4 separate regions of the Homo sapiens genome follow, and regions 1, 2 and 3 are each linked to region 4. Evidence: promoter capture Hi-C in 16 types of primary human blood cells and fetal thymus (Javierre and others, 2016). All regions are on one chromosome and are shown on one strand. Each heading gives the region's core, a stretch centred on a gene start or on the middle of the fragment in contact. The rest is flanking DNA. Distances are from core to core; before and after follow the strand shown. Region 1 has its middle 84 kb from the start of SSX2IP. Region 2 overlaps PRKACB (protein kinase cAMP-activated catalytic subunit beta). Region 3 overlaps PRKACB (protein kinase cAMP-activated catalytic subunit beta). Region 4 holds the start of SPATA1 (spermatogenesis associated 1).

Region 1 (2,818 bases), core at 49-2,548, 270 kb after region 4:
GCACTGTCATCCTGGGCCTCAGCCCTGCTGTCAGAACCCTCCTCCAGATACCTGAAGCAAAAAGAGGCAGGGGACCCCTTAGGTGTACTGCTGATTTGGAGAAATCCTTCATCCGACGGAAGGTCTTTCTAGGTTCCTCCCCTGACACTCCTATCTAAATAAAAACTACTTCTGAAGCCTGCATGACCCTTAGAGTTGGAATCATCTGAGCTGTGGAGCACTTACCCAACATATCCTGGGATTTGTCAAATGTTGCCGGTGATTCCAGAATTGCAGCTGACTACCTAATAGCAGACATCATGTCACTCCGCTCATGGTGACTGCTGTTAATCTGGATCTGGAAGTTCCATGTCGTTTGCTTTTGGCTTCTATGTCCTGGCGAGGCAAGTACAGGCAGCACTGTTGGTGCCCATTGTACGGGCAAGAAAACCAAGGTTTGAAAACAGGTTCGGTGACTCCCCACATAACCAAAGGGAGTGGTGGAGTTACAATAACATGAAGGAACTCTGACTCCCTTGTCCAATCACGCAGGGTTTAGTCATTTGTTTTTATGATCTCAATGAGGGGCCTTTGGCTCATAGTTCATTAATTTTCATCACAAACACTATTGAAAACCATTAATTGCCTGTGCTTTAAATAGCAGTGTGGAGTTTTTTCCTTGCCTAGCAAGACAATGGGTGTCAGTGGGTAGAAGGAGCACTGGGCTGGGGACCAAAAATCCTGGACTCTTGTTTGACAAGGTCACCACCAAACTGAGGGGCCTGGGAAGTCACAACCACTGAGGCCTCCCTCTCCCCATCTAGGAAGCGAAGAGGGCAGGAGTAAGGTACCTTCCCTCCCAGAACTCCATATGTGAAAGAAAGGGCATTTCTGATTTAGGGTATGTTTCACTTTCTCTAACCTTGGATCTGTCCCAGTAAAATGATTAAGCGAGGATATCTGTCTTTGCCAAAGTATGACTTACCTGGTCAGTCCAGATTGTTCAGGTGGGCTTATTGCTTTCTTGATTTGTAACCTTTTGTTTTCCAGTGACCTGGACTGTTTTTGGTATAGAATTTCATTCCCAGGTGATAAATTCCTTTAGGGAAGTGATAGCAAACAGGTTTAATCTTGAGGGCCCTTCAAATCAGTGAGCAGTGGCTGTCGGGAGCTCTGTGTTAATGTCTCTGAGGCCATGCTGTAAGGCGCCATGGGAACATGATTGATTAGCCATGTCTGCTGTGGGCAGGGGCTGGGGAATGCAGAGGGGAAGGGCTGTATCTGGGATAGCACTGTGGAATTGGAGCAAGGGAAGCCATGCCGAGTGAAAAGGCACAGAGCTGCTTAGAAGCAGAGCAGGGATAGGAATCCACACCTCCTCCCTTCCAATTCAGTGGCCTCCCACACAAGACTTCCTCTTTATTTGGTGTGATGGGCAATCAGGTGCTTAGAAGATACTTTCCGATGATGAGGATGAAACTGATGGTCTGGCAGCAGCTTTCTGCCTGCTCTCTCAGCAATGTGTAAACCCACACATGTGTTTTTCCCTTTCTGAGACACAGAAAGGCTCAACCTTTGACAAGAGATTGTCCAGGAAACATCAGTAAACACACCAAATGCCTACATTCCCATTAAAACATGCCTATCTCCTTCTAGGCAGTTCCAAGCGAGACTTCTAAGAGGTCTGCCTTGCACAACTCACAGGCAGCAGCTGTGAGGAGGAGAGGTGCACCCCAGGCTGTGGGTGGGAGGACAGAGGGAATGGGGAGGCAGGAACAATGGACCAGCCTCCTTGGCCTCACAGGAGGCGTCTGAATGAACGATGATGGCTCTTGGCCTTCCAAATGGCAAAGACACATTCCCAGAGAGGCCGGCTGTGGAGGGCTCCTGCCCAGATGGACTCGCTGTACTGTGAAGGAGCATTCTGTGTTCCCTAACTGGCAGCGGCTGCCCAGCCCATCAGCTTGCCTGACTGCACACCAAGGGCCCTGACGGCTTTCTCATGGGGCACCCCGGGGCTTCTGCCCCAAGCAGATGCTGGGCTTTATGTTCCCACAGAGAAGGCTTGCCCGTGGCGGTCCATCCATCTTCCTCTCCTTCATCTGAGAGGCAGTGTGGCCTGCCCTGAGGGTCTGCAGGGAGCGCTCTCACCAGGCCTGGGAGGATGCTGCCAGGGAGGAGAGTGCCCTGGAGCCTGAATGCCTCTTTTGTTTGCAATGAAATAAAATCTGCCCTTTTAAAAAGCATCCACGCTGCCAAAATCCCAGGTAAAGGGGGTGTGGTTGACTTGCTGCTAGGGAGGAATTCCTTAAGCTCTGCAGGCTATACACCCTCCACAGGAAAGGCCTGGGCCTGGCTGTTGATGATGATGGGATTTCTCCCCCAACACATGCACCTCCCTTGGCTGGCAGGCAACTCAGGAGTGAGGAATGACCAAAGCCAATTCCCAGAGCAGCGGAGGAGCACGGTTCACCTTCCAGTCAGTGCCTCAGGGCAAGCCCTTTCCATCCTCTCCATAGCGCCACCTCTCAGCGGGAGAAATGCTTGGTTCACACACAGGGTCCACCCTGCTCCCACCTGGCTCTTTGAGCTAACGAAGTATCACCCTTTACAGGTCCTGGTTCTGATGCACCAAGATGTCTGATAATAATAAAAAAAAAAAGCCCAGTAGTTACTCACACTCCAAGGTGCCTGGGCTTTCTTCTGGGAGGTTGCTCCCTTCTTTGCGGCCATCACCACACATTCCTCTAGTAAGGAAACCCCAAGAGGCCGGATGTCTGCAGCACATGAGCTGTGTGTATTCCCACACCATGATTATTGCCAAGAGGTTAGAAACTGA
Region 2 (2,783 bases), core at 195-2,694, 300 kb before region 4:
TTTACATTTGGTTTGCAAAGCACTTTTTACACACGTTACTCCCTTTCATTTGATACAGTCCTCACAAAACTCTGTGAATTCATTTTTTTCCTGCATATCTTTTAGATATAGGAAGCAAGACAGTAGATAGCAGAAGTAAAGTATACCTAAATATTTACATGAATTGAATTTTACATTAAACTTTTTGCTTTCACAAAATCCTATGAAGCAGATGGGATTATCCCTAGCACATTCACCCTCCTAACTCCAAAAATATAGAGTATTTTGAAGTCAACTTCATTATTTACTATGTAGTCCAGTTTCTATTATTTTCTTTGAAAACTTTTGATCTTTCTAGGCATGCTGTGGAAAATCTGTTTCATAAGATTATGGACCTAGAGTGGGCCTTAAGAAGTAATGTGGTCTAACTGCCTTCCTGTTATTGAGCAAGAACTAAATTATACCAGTGAAATAAAGAAAATTTCATTGTCTATAATATTCTTAATAATTTTAGGAAGAAGATTTAATACTCTTTCCTAATATCCAATTTCAGTATCTGGAAATCCTCTCCTTTGTTTAATTTAAATCTGACCTGATACATTTGGTTCATTTTTAAATTCTGTCCTGAATAGCTGCTCAGCAATTGCTTTAAAAAAATTTTTATATGCTTCCAGATCATTTTGAAATTATCTTTGACTTCATTCTCTTTTGAGTAACTTAAGTAACAATTGACATTGGTGTTGGTTTATCTCAGGGCTACAATAAGGCAGTGGATTGGTGGGCATTAGGAGTGCTAATCTATGAAATGGCAGCTGGCTATCCCCCATTCTTTGCAGACCAACCAATTCAGATTTATGAAAAGATTGTTTCTGGAAAGGTAAGTAAAACATTTTATTATTCCTCTCTTATTACTGTATATGAATTTTAAGCTTCATGAATTGAAACTATATTGTGTCATAATTATTATTCTACATTGGGAAAAATATAGAAAAATCTACAGTTGCTGCTCTTACTATCATAAGAATTGAATCATTTCAGTCTCTTAAGAAAAAAAGGGCAGTTTTATAAAGAAATTAACAAAACAGTAAAGCAATTTCTGTATTTAGTATTTTTATCACAAAGAACAGGATCATAGCCATAATTCTCGATATTCCTTCAAATAAATAAAAATAGTTTATTATTTCATGTGTCTATCTTCATGGAGAAAAGTTTTAGGGGCTGTTTTATATGCCCTTCCATTTTCAGGAGAGACTTCTTGTTTTAATTATGTCCAATACTATAACATTGGAAGTAAAAGTAAATATAAAATGAATAAGCCTTTTTCAGATGGAAATTTATAGAATTGATTTTAACAGAATTGTTCATATAGATTGTGATTATACTTGTCATTGGTTTTTAGCAAACATGGAAATAACATTAATTTTTCTTCAACATGAGTAGACTTACTGTGTTGTAGTATTTTACATTTTGTAAATTTCTTCATAAACCTTCCTTCTTTTGCACTTATAACCTCTAATTTGCTTTCAAGAGTGTTTTGTTTAGGGTCAGTCATTTGCTGTTGCCTTAGCTCAGACCTCGGATCTTTTTTTAAAAGACCATTGTCAATTCAATAGAAATGAGCTTGAATTTCCTACCATGCAGCAATGAAAGAATAGGCTTTTAAACATTCCCAGAAGGAGACCTTCTATACATTAATGACAAAATATATGGGAAGGGATATTTTGCTTATTTTCCCTTCTTTCTATTTCTACATGTGGTACTGCTTTGTCTTTTCTTTTCTTTCCCACATAGTCCCATTTAGAATATGATCAGGAAATAGAGCATCAATCTTTATCACATTAGCCTGAGATGTTATAGAGTTGAGGTTTTTTTGTTTTATTTTTTATTTGTTTGCTTTGTATTTTGTGACCTTCTTAGGCAGAGATAAGCCGGAAGGAGATAGTAGAGGGAAGGTCTTTATTTCTTTGTATCTCAGCCATATTCAAGCTCTACATTTAGTGTGAAAGCTTACCCTTGGCATCTATCAACTTACAATTTCCATTGTTAACTATTCACAAGGTACCCTGAATGTCTCTAATGTGGTAATTTATTTTTTTTGCCAACACTCAAATTTAAATCATAGATGCTGCACAGCTGGGCTGTAGCAACAAGACATTTGCCAATAGAATTAGTCTATCCAATCACCTAGAACATACATTTCAGCACAGTATTGTTCCCTATCTCATAGTACATATGCACTCTACCTGGGTCATGAGATTTTCCCTTGTATTTTGCCACGTTTTATGTAGAAAGTTTTATTTATTATCAGTATTCACAAATTAGGAGACTGACTAAAGAATTTATACTCCAACTATGTCAAAGGTAAAAAAATAAATACCTCTTACAGATAAATAAACCTAGCTAGGTGTTGAATGCTGTGCACTGATAAAGGCAATACAGAAAAGCAGAATGCAGTACTTATTTAAACAAGTATCAGTATCACTGCTGTTCTTCTTACATTTGTAGATCTCTGGCTTCAGACTTCTTATCTTTGTAATTGTTTTCTCCCAGCAGAACTTTTGATATGAACAAAACAAAACTTTGAGAAAAATTAACAGACAAGGCAGTGATTTATTTTTGAAGAATTTGAGAAGTGTAGACTCTCAAGAGGACTAAAGGTCATATGAAGAATGATGAGAGAACCAAAATACATTAAAATCACAAATGGAAGAAGAATATTTTACTAATACAAAAACTAAGAATGTAAATGTTATAATAATTGTTTCAAATCATTTAATTGACAGTAATTATAAAGTTCTTGAATC
Region 3 (2,700 bases), core at 161-2,660, 320 kb before region 4:
TTTATTCTTTATTTCTCAAGGTTATTAATCTGTCAGAGAGATTTTAAATTTTTCTAATTCAGCATTATATAATATTAAAATAATTTTGACCTAAGTTGAATAATTGTATTTCCTTTTTATTTGTTCATAGGATAATTCTAATTTATACATGGTTATGGAATATGTCCCTGGGGGTGAAATGTTTTCACATCTAAGAAGAATTGGAAGGTTCAGGTAACTAATGGTTTTGCTTTCTTCAAATCTTTATATGCTTGTGTTGTTTAACCAGATTTTTAAGTTGATGCCAATGCCAAAAACTTATTTTGTTTGATTAATATTTTGGCCATATGAAGCATTAGGTGGAAACAAAGAGGCCACATCATACACAAGTTTTAATATAAAGAATATAAAAATTTAATATAAAAAAAGGACTTTGAAGCCAATTTAAATGTTATACTACTGCTAGATATTGTGAGGGTCCACTACTTGAAGAGTTTTCAGAAAATGGAAAAATTAATTGAATTTTAAAATATCAATATTTATTAAACAAAGATTAATAATACAACTCCAGGACAGAGGATTGTTTTAAGGATGAAGATGGAAAATAAATATATAGAGAAATAATAATAATAGTATTATGGTAATAAGATTATAAAAGTTTGTTTTTCACAAATTTAATTCTCCTTAAAGTTCTTGCTAAGTTTAGTTTTTAAAATATACACATAATTTAACGGGAGTTTGTACCTCATCAGGTTATGACTAATAAGATCTCAGAGTTATTAAAATAGGTTATAGAATCTGATGGTTTTACCTGTACTTAATAGTTTATAAGCTTCTACCGTTCATTAATAATCACTAATAGAATAAAGCTAAAATAAAAAACAGGTACAGCTTCATTCAGTATAGTGTGTTGAAGTCAAAATAAAAATGTAGAGACAAATCTCTAAATTCAACATTTTATTGAGGAAGCAAGAATTGCAGTTTGAGGCATATACACAGACTAGGTGGTCTTCAATGTGTCTAGAAAACAAAGAAAAGGTTGGAGGTTTTATAAAAAGAAATTTTATGTTTATTTGTTTTGAAACAAAGTTTACTAGCACTAGTTAAGTTTTGGGGAGCTGGCAAGCTCTGATTGGTGAGTGATGGTGGTGGGTCAGACTCGTCTAAGAGTCGCAGTAGGTTGTCTCAGTAGCTGTTAGAGAAAACTGGTTTCAGGTTACAATAGGCAGTTTCAGCAACTAGACTTGTGGAAAATATAATTTTTTTGTTTGTTTTTGGTTTTTTTTTTGAGACTGAGTCTCCCTCTGTTGCCCAGGCTGGAGTACAGCGGCACCATTTCGACTTACTGCAACCTCTGCCTCCTGGGTTCCAGTGATTCTCTTGCCTCAGCCACCCGAGTAGCTGGGACTAGAGGTGTCCGCCACCACATCCGGCTAATTTTTCTATTTTTGGTAGACACAGGTTTTCACCGTGTTGGCCAGGCTGGTCTCGAACTCCTGATCTCAAGTGATCCACCCTCCTTGGCCTCCCAAAGTGCTGGGATTACAGGTGTGAGCTACCACACCTGGCCTTAATTCTTGGAGCAGGTGCTGTGTGCCCTGAGTGCGTTATTCCCTGGCCCCTCGACTCTGATTTAGTTAGGTATGATGAGAATGACTAATTTGTATAATCAGCTTTCACATTTTTCCCTTTTGATCAAGATCTTTCTCTGAAAGCATTGCTTGTCAACCATCTTGAAGTTAGGCTTAATTATTCCTTGGTGCTCGGATGGACTTGTTCTGGTTGTCTCTGTCCCACATATGAGAGAAGTTATCTGTTGGGGGGTGTCTATGTAGGGACCTGGGCCACATTCAAGTAACGAGGAGGCCAGAAGGAAAATTTTTCTCAAAGTAGATTTTTGTCTGGAGTCCAGCCAGCATCGAGTTCCCACTTATCACTTCCATAGGTATTAGCAGTCATCTTTAAGTGTTGGGCTAACGTTATTCTGTTGGGACAGCTGCCTTTACAAAGATTAGATAGGCACTAAGAACAAAGCTTACAAATGATAGTACAAAAAAATTAACAATATAGTAAAATGTATTTGTGCAGTGCTTTTGAACTAAAGCCCAGGCCTAAGGGCAAAAAACTAAAGAAATCAAAGGACCAGGGGAAACTGGTGAGACCTGCTATAGCCATTGACTAACATTTTATGACTGGGTTGAACTAAAGCAGAGAATGCCAAACTTTGCAAGAGGGACCACCAGCACAAATTAAACAAAAAATTGTGTTAAGGATATTGTCGATGTTGTGACTAGATGAACTGAAAGAATTTCTTAAGTCAGGCTTTGTCAATGGCTTTAGCAGGTCTCACCAGTACCTATAGCAGTTACTGATTGTGAATTTTAAATTACAATATTATTTGGTTAAGTGAAAAAGCAGGCATTAAGAGGGGTAAGAGTTTCATTACAATATGGAGTCTTGTTCTAGTGTTTTGAGAAAAGCTGTTCACACCATGGAAAACATCAACTTTCTTGGCTTTGTTTACAGTGTAAATGTCTCTGGCTATGGCTTTGGGCAGTTTGATGAACTTTCTGTGTGGCCCATACATCAGGCATGAGACTTGTTTCTTAAAATTTATATAGTTTCAGCTAACAGGACTTCAGGAACAGAGCGGTTCTCATTTTAGTAATTTTATGGAAGAAAGTTCGATTGGAGGAACCTAGAAGAATTTAGGACCTTGTC
Region 4 (2,820 bases), core at 222-2,721:
AGGTGACCACAACTGAGTAAGCTAGGTCTCTGACACTTCTAGTTAAGAAAGCTTAGAGACCCTCTCAGTTCACAAAACATTTCGGCAAGTAATAAAGACTAGCCTGATGAGTATAAAATCAAATCATCTTAGGAACTGGCTGCTTTTAACAGGGCACATGATTTACATTCTTGTTTCTTTTTTTAACTGCAGAAGTGTTTCACATGTAGCCTGACCTATTGTACCAGAAAGAAGCCAATCCATTTAGGACTGTAAAAATCAGGAAATACTTAGAACAGCACTTGAATGTCAAGTTATTCTATCAACACAGACAAAAGGCTTTTTCTCCCAAAGTACCCCAAGACAAGGCCAATACTAACCAGACGCCAAAATAAGACCAATAATTACCCACAATAATCATTTTCTCCGGCATGCGGACCAGTCGATATCCCCAAGGTCAAATATGAGCAAACTGTGCCATAGGTATGAAATGCACGCTTTGTTCGAGGTTGTACGGGGCACTGACCGGAACTTTACACTCCAGGATCGTTTCGAAAAATGCTTATTCAATCCACAGTTTAAGTTATGCAATAATTCGCTTAAAAGTATGTGTTCAACGGACAAGAGAAGTTGAAGGTAAGAATTTAATACTAAAGGAAGTAGGTTTGGGAAAGATCAAATGGGAGAAAAGTCTGCTCTGAATCAAAAGTCGGAAAATACCCTGTCCGATGAGAAACAGGAGGCTGGCAAAGTGGGAAAGGAAGGGTGCGGACAGCGCGCGGAGGCGCAGCTGTTGGTGAGACCAGCCGAGAAGGCTGCCAAGGGAGGTAGAGACGGAGGAGGACCGGAATGTCGGCCACGGTTCAACCCAGGGGCCAGCCCGCCTCGGAAAGTCCTGGGGCGGAAGGGCGAACTAATCGTCCCCCTAAAACACAGCGTAGACCCACGCGGCGCCTGCTCTAAAGCTGGCCGCTCCCCGATCGCCGCCGCTGAGCGCGCGTCCTCTCCAGGGGAAGCGAGGGCCGGCGCGTGTCCCGCCCGCCCCCGCCAGCTGGGCCGCCGGATCCCACCCGCCGCCGCCGCCTTCCTCCCGCCTCGGCCGCCCGCCCCCGCTCACTTTTACGCGGTTGAGTCCGGCCTCCAGCCGGAGCTGTTGAACCACTTTCTTCATAGCGGCGACGCTGGAGGAGCCAGACATGGTGCACGCGACGGCCGGGCCGATTCGTGGGTCGGTGGGTCGTGGGCCGTGGGTCGGCGGGGCCAGACAACTCAGCGGCGCGCGGCGGGGGCGGGGCTCCGAACTTTGTCTCTAAGTTTCCGGTTCTGTGCTCAGCGGCTCCACCCTCGGTGCGCATGCGCGCCTTGCCAGCCCTCTGTTCCAGCTCCACACCCGGCCCCGAGCGCGAGCCTGGAGGAGGGGGAGGAGAAGGGGCGGAGCAGTCGGTGGGCGCGGCGGCTGCTGGAGGCTAGCGCGACCCGACTCTTAAGTTTTCTTTTCCTCTCCAGAGGGGCCGATTAGGGAGAGGTAAGGAGAGAGCTTACCGTTAGCCGCGAAGAACTAAGAGGGGGTCTGAAGAGGACCAGGGAGGGAAGGCAGAGCTTGTGGGAGTTTCTAAAAGGCCCGGCGGCGGGTGACCAGGAGGTCTCAGTTTTCCTCCCAGTTTGTGGGAAGGGTTGAGGGAAGTGAGGGGAGATACTGGGTGAGGCGTAGGAGCTACTGTGCACCCGGCGTGAGTCACCCGCACACCCCCGCCCCGTACAGGCGTGTCTCTCTGTGACCCGAGTTTGGCCAACAGGCATTTTCAGTTCCACCCCCAACCCCCAGCCCCGCTGACCCGAGGCGGAGAGCAGGCGCGGAGGTCGCTGTCGCGTACCCAGCGGAGCCGGGCGGGCGGGGAGCAGGGGCGCTGATTCGCTGGAGAAGGGATCTTCTCGAGGTTTGACTTTACTGGCTTCTTAGCTCTTGAATCGGTTTTTCTGAAGGAGATTGTGAAGAAGCCAAGGTGCTGGCTGAAGATTACACCTGTCTGCTCGGTTACCCATTTACTCTGGAGAATTAATGCTTATTGTACTTTTTAAAATAAAACTTATTTTTGTGTTTCCGGAAAGTTTGCTCTTTAGTATTTCCGTTGTAATTTATTACCTCCTGCTTGAAATTGAGTACCAAAGGAGTTTTTAGGAGAGAGGGTAGGGTCTAACCAAACAAAATAGGCTCAGCCAGTAGGTCTTTCTTTCATCCACGGAAATATGTGTGTTATGTCACAGCACTAAGGGCAGATGTTTCCTATTTCTTTTCGGGTAGTCAATCTCCGAATGCGCTGATGTTTTCCATTAATGTTAATAATTTTATCATTAATGGATTTCAAATTTTTTATTAGGGAAGCATGTGTAATTGCACTGGTCAACAAAATCTAATTTATTTACTCAACAGTTTATATCAGTTCGCAAAAATGTACATCGTAAGTTTAGCATTTTACTTAATTCATACGGATGTAATGATTGGGGTTAAAACCAGGGTTTGAATTCTGGCTCTGCTACTTACGGTATTCTTGGGCAAGCCACTTAAGTTACTGAGGCTTTATTTCCTTATTTCAAAGTAAATTATACAGCTTCGTAGAGTTGTTTTTCGGAATGAAATGACATTATATGTAAAAAGAATGTGAAAGCTATCTCAATAAATATTGTCTTTTCCCAAAAGGTATTGTAATTATTTCACCTTTGGTGCTTTGTTGACTGTATAATGCTAAAACGTCATTCATACTTTACAGATTTGTAAGATTAAACACAAGTATCTATTCAAAGAATGATCTGTTTTACAGTAGTTGTAAAATATATCACTGA

The links. The method cuts DNA at HindIII sites, captures the fragments that hold promoters and counts their contacts. A CHiCAGO score of 5 or more calls a contact.
Region 1: a contact is called between a fragment that was not itself captured here and the fragment with the promoter of SPATA1 in region 4, in 4 of 17 cell types (megakaryocytes, M2 macrophages, fetal thymus and 1 more). The highest score is 7.4, in megakaryocytes.
Region 2: a contact is called between a fragment that was not itself captured here and the fragment with the promoter of SPATA1 in region 4, in 1 of 17 cell types (fetal thymus). The highest score is 5.0, in fetal thymus.
Region 3: a contact is called between a fragment that was not itself captured here and the fragment with the promoter of SPATA1 in region 4, in 7 of 17 cell types (fetal thymus, M0 macrophages, erythroblasts and 4 more). The highest score is 6.9, in fetal thymus.

Annotation. Positions count from the first base shown.
Region 1 is chr1:84,772,909-84,775,726 of GRCh38, forward strand. No RefSeq gene overlaps it. Among named protein-coding and RNA genes, the nearest start is that of SSX2IP, 84 kb to the left of the region's middle. RefSeq lists an enhancer at 1,952-2,451. The HindIII fragment of the contact is 3,509 bases long and covers 1-2,818 here.
Region 2 is chr1:84,201,950-84,204,732 of GRCh38, forward strand. It overlaps PRKACB (protein kinase cAMP-activated catalytic subunit beta), which reads left to right. Exons shown (of 10, transcript NM_182948.4): 8 at 734-856. Among named protein-coding and RNA genes, the nearest start is that of PRKACB, 59 kb to the left of the region's middle. The HindIII fragment of the contact is 1,077 bases long and covers 907-1,983 here.
Region 3 is chr1:84,184,970-84,187,669 of GRCh38, forward strand. PRKACB (protein kinase cAMP-activated catalytic subunit beta) reads left to right here. Exons shown (of 10, transcript NM_182948.4): 5 at 131-213. Among named protein-coding and RNA genes, the nearest start is that of PRKACB, 42 kb to the left of the region's middle. The HindIII fragment of the contact is 1,202 bases long and covers 810-2,011 here.
Region 4 is chr1:84,504,915-84,507,734 of GRCh38, forward strand. SPATA1 (spermatogenesis associated 1) reads left to right here and starts at 1,472. Exons shown (of 14, transcript NM_001397487.1): 1 at 1,472-1,504. It overlaps GNG5 (G protein subunit gamma 5), which reads right to left and starts at 1,667. Exons shown (of 4, transcript NM_005274.3): 1 at 1,522-1,667; 2 at 1,097-1,387. The coding sequence starts at 1,177. RefSeq lists silencers at 933-1,062, 1,313-1,392. The HindIII fragment of the contact is 7,618 bases long and covers 50-2,820 here.